2 separate regions of the Homo sapiens genome follow, and region 2 is linked to region 1. Evidence: promoter capture Hi-C in 16 types of primary human blood cells and fetal thymus (Javierre and others, 2016). All regions are on one chromosome and are shown on one strand. The core of a region is centred on a gene start or on the middle of the fragment in contact, and the rest is flanking DNA. Distances in the headings are between cores, read along the strand shown. Region 1 overlaps SCN4B (sodium voltage-gated channel beta subunit 4). Region 2 holds the start of KMT2A (lysine methyltransferase 2A).

The links. The method cuts DNA at HindIII sites, captures the fragments that hold promoters and counts their contacts. A CHiCAGO score of 5 or more calls a contact.
Region 2: a contact is called between the fragment with the promoter of KMT2A here and a fragment that was not itself captured in region 1, in 1 of 17 cell types (neutrophils). The highest score is 6.5, in neutrophils.

The regions. Positions count from the first base shown.
Region 1 is chr11:118,144,682-118,148,696 of GRCh38, reverse strand. It overlaps SCN4B (sodium voltage-gated channel beta subunit 4), which reads left to right. Exons shown (of 5, transcript NM_174934.4): 2 at 3,468-3,640. Among named protein-coding and RNA genes, the nearest start is that of SCN4B, 6.1 kb to the left of the region's middle. RefSeq lists a silencer at 2,788-2,857 and enhancers at 3,278-3,477, 3,694-4,015. The HindIII fragment of the contact is 3,839 bases long and covers 131-3,969 here.
Region 2 is chr11:118,434,640-118,438,654 of GRCh38, reverse strand. It overlaps KMT2A (lysine methyltransferase 2A), which reads right to left and starts at 2,163. Exons shown (of 36, transcript NM_001197104.2): 1 at 1,711-2,163. The coding sequence starts at 2,142. RefSeq lists enhancers at 197-1,194, 1,195-2,193, 2,855-2,994, 2,194-3,191 and a silencer at 2,065-2,544. The HindIII fragment of the contact is 8,732 bases long and covers 1-4,015 here.

The sequences.
Region 1 (4,015 bases), core at 801-3,300:
TACCTGTGATGAGGGACACCCTTGTCCCCTGCTCCCCTTTCAAATACCACCCTCCTCTACCTGCAGGGTGCCCACTCACGGCGGCCCCTCTTGTGTTTTATAATCTCCTGTTCTGGCTTCACACCAAGCTTGAGAAGTAGGAAAGAGGCATCCCTGCCCTGGCTTGGGGATATGCACACCGGATGTGGCACCTCTGACTTTCTCAAGGTCAGCTGGCAGAGTGGGGCCTGCCTTGCGCATGCTCACCAGTCCTCTCTGGACTTGGTCATCCTGAAGCAGCCCTCCGGCGGCCTTTGTGGACCAACACCTGCCCCTGGTTCCCCCCTCTCCCCCAGAGCAGCCTCATAGGAGACACTGAGTTCAATGGGAGGCAGGCCCCTCGGCTTTCTTGTGCATGACCCTCCCAGACATAACTGGCAGGACTGCATGACTCCCGACTGGGAGGGCTGTGCACTGAAGAAGCCAGGCTTGCCCACCCTCTCTGATGCTTTCACTCGGGCAGGGCTCTGGACTCTGTGAAACCATTTCTGCCGGTTTTCATTTTCCCCTCCCAGCTACTGAGGAAATGGCAATGCTTCACTTGCAGAGTCCTGAGTGTATTGGACTTAAGTCATCCACATAGGTGCACACAAACCAGGCAGAAACGTGTACTGTGTCATGAGCCAGACCTTAAAGATACAGTGTTCCCCTCTCTTCTGGACCCATCTTTTGCTCGTTTTTGCTTCTATTTAAAGCAATCAATAAGATTTCCTTTTCGCACGCATCTTTTGTGCTCTTGAATATCTCTTTCTGGCTAGGGTTGAGGTGGGGAGATTTGGGCACGGATTTGAGTTCCCCCATCTCCTCCAGGACCCTGATTCCTGGACCGGTATGCTGATGAGGAGGAGCTGCCACACTCCTTGGTGCCCTGAGGGAGGCCATTAGCTATCAGGAAGCTGCCTTGTCTGACAGCTTCCCTGTCCACTGCTCTGCATTCACTTCCTGTTTGTGGGGGCTGTGGAGGGTGGGAAGCAGAGTTGGTATCTCCCACCAAAAGGTTCTAGTGCTGGCTGCAGACTGGAGAGTGGGATCTTGTGTCTGGCTTCTGTCCCTAGACCTCTGGGGGAGATGGGGCGGAGGAGGGCAGAGGTAAACAGAAAGGCAGGAGTTCTATGGAGTGCTAAGCCCTGATAGCAGTGTTTTTCTTGGAGAGTGTGGTTGGTCACAGAGTGGTGGAAAGGGGCTAATATCTGAACGCTGCTTATTCCACTCACTGGGTGTGTGGCCATGAGCAAGGTAATCTTTTTAAGCCTGTTTCCTCATTTGTTTATTGGGAATAAAAATAGTAACTTATAGGATTATGATGAGGGTTAAATGAGACAGTGTATATAAAATACCTCTCCTATCCTATAGTAACTGCTCAGTCTCAAATTCACCATTTACTCTGTGGCCCTGGGCAAGTCAACTCTCTGAGCCTCAGTTTCATCATATATAAAATGGGAACATTATACCTGCCTTTGAGCATTCTAATAAAAGTCGTAGTTAGTATGCACAAATCCTCTCGCACCGTGGTTCTCAAAGTGTGGTCCCTGCGCACAGCATTCCCTGGGAACTTTCTCGAAATGTAAAAGCTCAGGCTCCACTCCAGACCTGAATCAGAACTCCAGGGGCTGGGCGGAGCCAGCCGTAACTGTTCTCCAGGGGATTCTGATGCGCTCTCAAGTTTGAAAACCATGGCTCTAGAACAAATCCTGGTTGGCCACAAATCCTAGGAGCTGGCCAAAAATAAAGGCTAATTGAAATAACTTCCCAGCACTAATTGGAGCCCTGGTGGGTAGATCTGGGTCTCTTAGGCAAGTTACATAACCTCTCTAGGCTCAGTTGTCTCACCTACAATGTGGACCTATAATAGTACGTGACTCATAGGACAGGCCGTGAGGATGAAATGTGCCTGGCACATAGTAGATGCTCAGTTAATATCAGCTAGTACTATTGTTAGCGACAATGGCCGAATCACGATGGGGTTACTGGACCACGGGGTGTGATTTTAGGGCTGGGGGATATAAGCACTTCACTTTGTCATCAGAAGCTAAGGGCACAGGAAGAAGCTGAGCAAGCAGGGCTGCCTGCTGTCCTTGGAGATCCTTTTCTGTCATTTGAAAAGCATTGCTCAGACGCATTATCATCCGGTGGGGGCAAAACAAGAGGTTTATGATGCAGAACAGGGAATTAAGTTAGACAACAGAGGGCCTTCCTGAGAGTGGGGTTGGAAGGTGCCAGTGTCCTCTAGGGAGGAGGTGAGGCAGGCATCCACTTCCAGACACCCTCCCCGCCCCCGCCTCCACCGACCTTGAGGCGAGTGGGGTTTCCTTGGGGCATCTGCAGGACTGGGGGTGGGTGTGTGTGTGGGGCGGGGTGGCGGGGAACCAGGCCCCCTTACAAGGACTCCGGAGCGGGAGTTTGGAGGCCGTGAGTGGAGAGGCCTAGTCCCAGCGGAGGGGGCCGCATCGGAGTGCTGGGGCGGAGGTTCGAAGCGTGAGAAAGAAGCCTGGGGGCGCTCGGGGACGAGGGGGCGGAGTGTGGCGAGAAGGCCGGGCTGCAGGGCTCAGGAGGGGACCGCGGGTCCAGCGCCCTCCCCGTCCCGCCCCCGCGCGCGTGCACTCGGGCTGGCCCGGAATCCCTCCCCAGGGTGTCTTCTGCCACTGACTTTCCCACCCTGGCTGCGCCCGCGCGCCCCCGCGGCTGCCAAGCTCCAAGCCCCGCGTCGGTCCCCACCCCCGCCGTGTTCCCCCCTGCCAGGCCGTCTTCCTGCGGTTCCCAGGGTCCCGTTTGGCGGCCAGAGGGCGTCGGACTCGGCTGGCCCAGCGAGGTCCAGCCCGAACGTGTCCTTCTGCCTCTCTGCCCCTGGGGACCAGGGAGGAGCCTCCAGGGCGGGGGAACGAGAGGCTACTGGACGGCGGCCCGGGACTGCGGCGGCCGCGTTTCTCTTCTTCACCTTACGGGACCCGGCTCTTCCCCCTCCTCGACCGCCCCGCCCGTCAGTCCTGAAAACCTGGCGAGAGGCGCGTACTGTCCTAGGGGAATTCCCCTGCAAACAGAAGGGAGCCCGCCCTGCGCGTCCTGGAGTGGGTGCGGCAGGAGCGCTTCCAGGCACTGCGTCCCCAGGTGAGGGGCGGAGCCGGGGCGCGGTTCGCGGCAGTGGCCAGGCCTTTGTTTCCTTGGGTTGGGGTGACCCCTGGTGGTCATCCAGAGCGCAACAAGGGCTACTCCCTGGTCCAGAATTCAGTCCTTTCCAGGGGAGAAATGGAGAATGATGGAGGGTGGCCCAGGCGGTGCTGATTGGAGTAGACAGCCATCCTCCCGAGGTTGGCACTGAGGGTGATAGAGACCTACCTGCCTGGCCAAGCTACTCCGCCCTGCCTAAGCATCCCCTTCCAGAGCTCCAGGCTGGTGGGGTTTTATTAAGGGAGGCGGTGCTCCTTACACAGGCCTCTTCCTGCTCCCCGTAACCCTGTCGCTGGAGGTGTCTGTGGGAAAGGCCACCGACATCTACGCTGTCAATGGCACGGAGATCCTGCTGCCCTGCACCTTCTCCAGCTGCTTTGGCTTCGAGGACCTCCACTTCCGGTGGACCTACAACAGCAGTGACGCATTCAAGATTGTAAGTATTTGGAGGAAGAACAGTACAGCCCAGCCTCCCTCACCCATGCCTCGCCTCCTACGCTCTGGTCCCTTCTGGACTGAGACCCACTGCGATGGTCCCCAGAACCCACCTTTTGCCACCCTTTCTCCCAGTATTCTTTTCAGAGCCTGCCAGGAAGGATGTAACTGGGAGAGATGCTTAGATCGTGTTGCCAGAATTCGGGGACTGTTGGAATTCTTGGCTAGAGTCCTCTGTCTGGTCTTAAGAAACACCCGGAGCTTGGATTGCTTGTCTAAAAATCAATAGTTTAGTCTAAGAAACAGGAGAGAGAAAGGCCTTGGAAAGCTTGGAGAGAAGGAATGAGAAGAGTCTGAATGAGGGAAGGGCTGAGAA
Region 2 (4,015 bases), core at 914-3,413, 290 kb before region 1:
TCTAAAGGGGTGCGGGGCACAATAGGGGACAAGGGGTTTGCCCAGGATATTTTGTGTGCACCAACGGCAGAGCACGCAGGAAACGGCTGGTTGTTATCTTTCCCTTTCTGTTTCAATCAAGAGCACTCCAGAGCAGCAACCCCCTACCCCCCTTCGCTTCAGCCCCTAGCAGCTGCTCTTCCTCCTCCTAGCATCCCCCATGCCATCCTCCCCCCTCTACAATTCGAACTCCCCCCTTCTGCATCCAATGGAAAACAAATGCGCAACGCCACTGGCTGAACCTGAACTCAACTTCCCTTCCTTGGGCAACTTTCCTTTTTGCTGAAGGGGGCCGAATAATGTTTATAGAAGCAACTCCGTTCTTGCCCCAGTACTAATGGGGAAGGGGCAACGCTCTGACCCTTCATCCACCTTGGGTCCCCTTACAAGAATCAGAGACAACCCCAAGTCCTTTCTAAGGAATAACTTTGCTTGATAATCCTTTTTCTCCCATCCCAAAGCAACCACCGCCACCACACTAAAGTATAACTGTCCCTTATCTACTCTCCTCACCCCAACCTGGCTTCCCCCACCCCTTCCAAGCCCCAGGATTGGCCTAGGAAAAGGTGGATCAATAATGAAATGACGAGAAGAGAAGGGCGGGAGGGAGCTCGGGTTGGAGACTGCGTGCTCTCAGGCGCAGTGGGTGGGGTAGGAGAGCAGCTGCTTCCCCTGGGAGGATGCTGCCTCAGTCCCCCAACAAACACCTCCCCTCACAGGGGCCCCCTTCCCCAGAGCTGGAGGGAAAGCCTGCCTCCTCTCCAAGGGGAGTGGTGGAAAGCTGCTCTTCTCTAAGCCTAGGGGACAGTGGACTATTTTCCCCTCCAAGATGCCACTAATCCTTCATTCTAAAGGAGGGAAAGGGTGGAGTGAAGGTAGAGTAATTCCCGGCTACCAATAGGCTAGAAACTGTAGCCCTGTAAGACGGGGCGGGGGGGGGAAGAGACTGCTGTATGAGGAATCACCGTTATCTTCAGAGGGAAAGGAGGTGAGACCAGGCAAGGTGCAGAGGAGAGATTTTCCCCGGTGGGGTAGGGCGGGATGGGGGAGGATCGGTCTGCTTGGGGTGGGGGTAGAGGGTGGAGGTGAAGGAAGGGGGAGTGGCTGGCAGTATAGGGACCTGGCCCGGGGATGGCGCGAGGGTTCATCGGGTTTTCGAAAGCAAGGTGCTGGAAGGGACACGATCCCCAAGGGCCAGGAGAACGTGGCCCTGGATGAGGCCATCACCCGAGAGACGCCCGAGAGGAAAACTGCCCTAGGAGTAACACATCTGCCCAGAGAGGGAGGCGGGGATGTGGCGGGATCAGGTCTCTAGGAGGGAGGGAGGGAGGAATCTTGCTCGGATGAGGTAATCTGTGAAAGGGAGGAGGGGTTCAGTCCCGGGATGGGAAACCCCGGCGAGGGGGTCTGTGCCAAGGGATTTGGGGAAGGGTCAGGGGGAGGAGAGCGGGGGGCAAACGCCCTCAGCCAGATGGGCCCAAACCCCGGGGTGGGGGCGCCTGGGGGTCTGCAGCCCTGCATGGGGGTCCCAAGATGGGAGAGCCATTCGCCCCGGGTCAGGGACCCCGAGATGGTCCCAGAATTGGGATGCTCCTCAATCCCGGATGGGGGAGGGGAGGGGGCTCCGCAGAGGGTCGAGACCCCGGACCTGGGGGTTCCTCGCCCCCTTACCTCTCCGCTGCCGCCTCCCCCGCCGCTCTCCCCAAACACGGCCCGGAACCGGCGCAGGTTGGTGCCGATGGCGGCCGAGACCTGCAGCGCCGCGTCGAAGCCCGGGCCCACCCGGAGCAGGGCCGGCCCTGAAGAGGCTGAGGACGATGACGAAGACGAAGACGAGGCGGACGACGAGGAGGCTGCTGAGGCGGCGGCCGCTCCCCCTGGAACCCCAGCCCCGCTGCTTCCCGCCGCCGCCGCCGCGGCCGCCACAGCCGGGGGGGAGGGGGGCGCCCCGGGGCCGCCACCGCCGACCGGGGGCCCGGGGGGAAGCAGCAGGGCCGGGACGCGTTGCCGCGGGGCGCCCCCTAGGCCCCGGCGCCCCCCGCCGCCGCCGCCCCCGGTGGTCCCGGGTCGGGCGGGGAAGCGCCACCGACAGCTGTGCGCCATGTTCGCCCCGTGAAGTGAAGCAGCGAGAGGGAGAGGCGACAACACAGGGGGGCGGGGAGGCGGAGGGGGGGGCACGGGGCCCCGGAACCTGCCTAACCAGCTCTGCGCCGCCCGGCCGCCTGCACCCTGCCGGCCGCTATGCAGAGCGCCGGGCCGCGCCCGCCAGCCCCGCAATCTGTATAGCGGCCTCGGGCCTCCGCCTCTGACGCCTGGGCGCTGCAACTCCATCCCGAGGCCCGGGCCGCCGCCTCCTGCCCGCCCGCCGGCCCCGCAACCTGGATAACTGCATGCCCCGCCCTCCGGGAGAGGCATTGCTCGGGAAAAGGAGGGGGGAAGGAAGCCCGGGAGCCCGGAGCAGAGCGCGGGTTCCGGAGAGAGGGGGAGGGGGCGAGGACTACGCGGAGGATGGAGGCGTAGGGAGCCGGGCCGCCTGCAGCCTTGAGCGCCGAGAGGCCGATTACACACGTTCCCGGGACGCGCTGGGAATCGAACAGCCCGGGAGAGCAGCTTCCAGTATAACGCGGCGGCTGGGTCGGGGAGCAGTGAGCCTTCTCCTCCGCCCCAGGGCACGGATACAAGATGGGTTAGCCCGAATTGAACGCTTCTAGAATAAAAGAGCCCTTATTGTACTACATGCAAAACAGAAGCGCTGCCCAGTTTACTATATGCAAAACAGAAAGGCCCTCAATGAACGCACTTTAAAAAATAAAAAAGGAGCCCCTCCCATTTTCATGCTGGAGCTCTTTCCAAAAAGCACACACCGAGTGGCAGGTCTCCTGCCACCTCCTCGCTCTACTGTGCACTCGTCTGGCTTTCGTGCCCTTCTGCAGGGAGTTGGGTTGTGTTTCTCCAGCCCGGGCACTGAGGCCACGGCGTGCTCCGCTAACGACGCGGTGTTACAACGAAGCTGAAGCTGGGTGGCTAACGGGGCCTGGAGGGAAGAGGCGGGCAAAAGCGCCCCCGCCCCTTCTTCCTCCGGTCTCTGCCTGCCGCTGCATGCAAAGCAGACCCTAATGTATGCACGCAGAGGGAGGGGGGCTCGCGAGCACGTTTCTGATTAAGAGAGGGGGAGGAGGAGAGCGTTGGGCATTATGATACACTGGGTGGAAGGGGCCCGCCGGCGGCGAGCTCTGTGCGCGGGGTTAGTAAGCTGAGGGGGGAGGGGGAAAGAAGGAGGCGAGTTAGGGAGGGGAATGAATATCCACCGGGTTTACTTTATTGCGGGAAAGAGGGGAGGGCGCCTCGAGCATAGCGTTAGACGCCTGCAAGGCTGGGAAAGCCGAGAGGGTAGGGAGGGGTTTGTGTCGGGAGAACTTGCGTTGGCTGAGGCTGGGGGATCGATACACAGCCTGCAGGCCCCGGGGCAGCCTCCATCCCCCAAGCCGAGGGGGAGTTCGCTGGAAGGTCATGCAGCCTTCCTGGACTCCCGCACCGGTACAGCGCACTGCATGTAATATTACAGCCTGGGGCGGCGAATTTGGGAAGGAGGGAGAGGGTCGTTGTGAGCAGGTTGCACTCAGCTCTGGCCCTCCGGAGGGTGCACTTCACGCCTCCAGAGAAGGTCCACAGCCTCCTGGTGCTGAAAACCTACGTCCCTCCACTGGCGAAACATTTGTGCAGAGCGGACGATGGGATGGGGGCTGGAGAGGAGCAATGAAAGGGAGGAGACACAGGCAAGCCTCAACTCCCCCAACTCGTCCCGAATCGATCTTCGTTCCAACCGCGCAGGATGGGGCCCAGATGGTTTGCAAAGCGCACACTCGCACAACGCAATACACAGAACAAGATTCCGTTGTTACAGCGCGTGGTTTACTAGATGCTAAAAGGGTGGGAGTAGCAGGAGGGTCTTAAACGGCAGCCCCAAGGCTCTGCT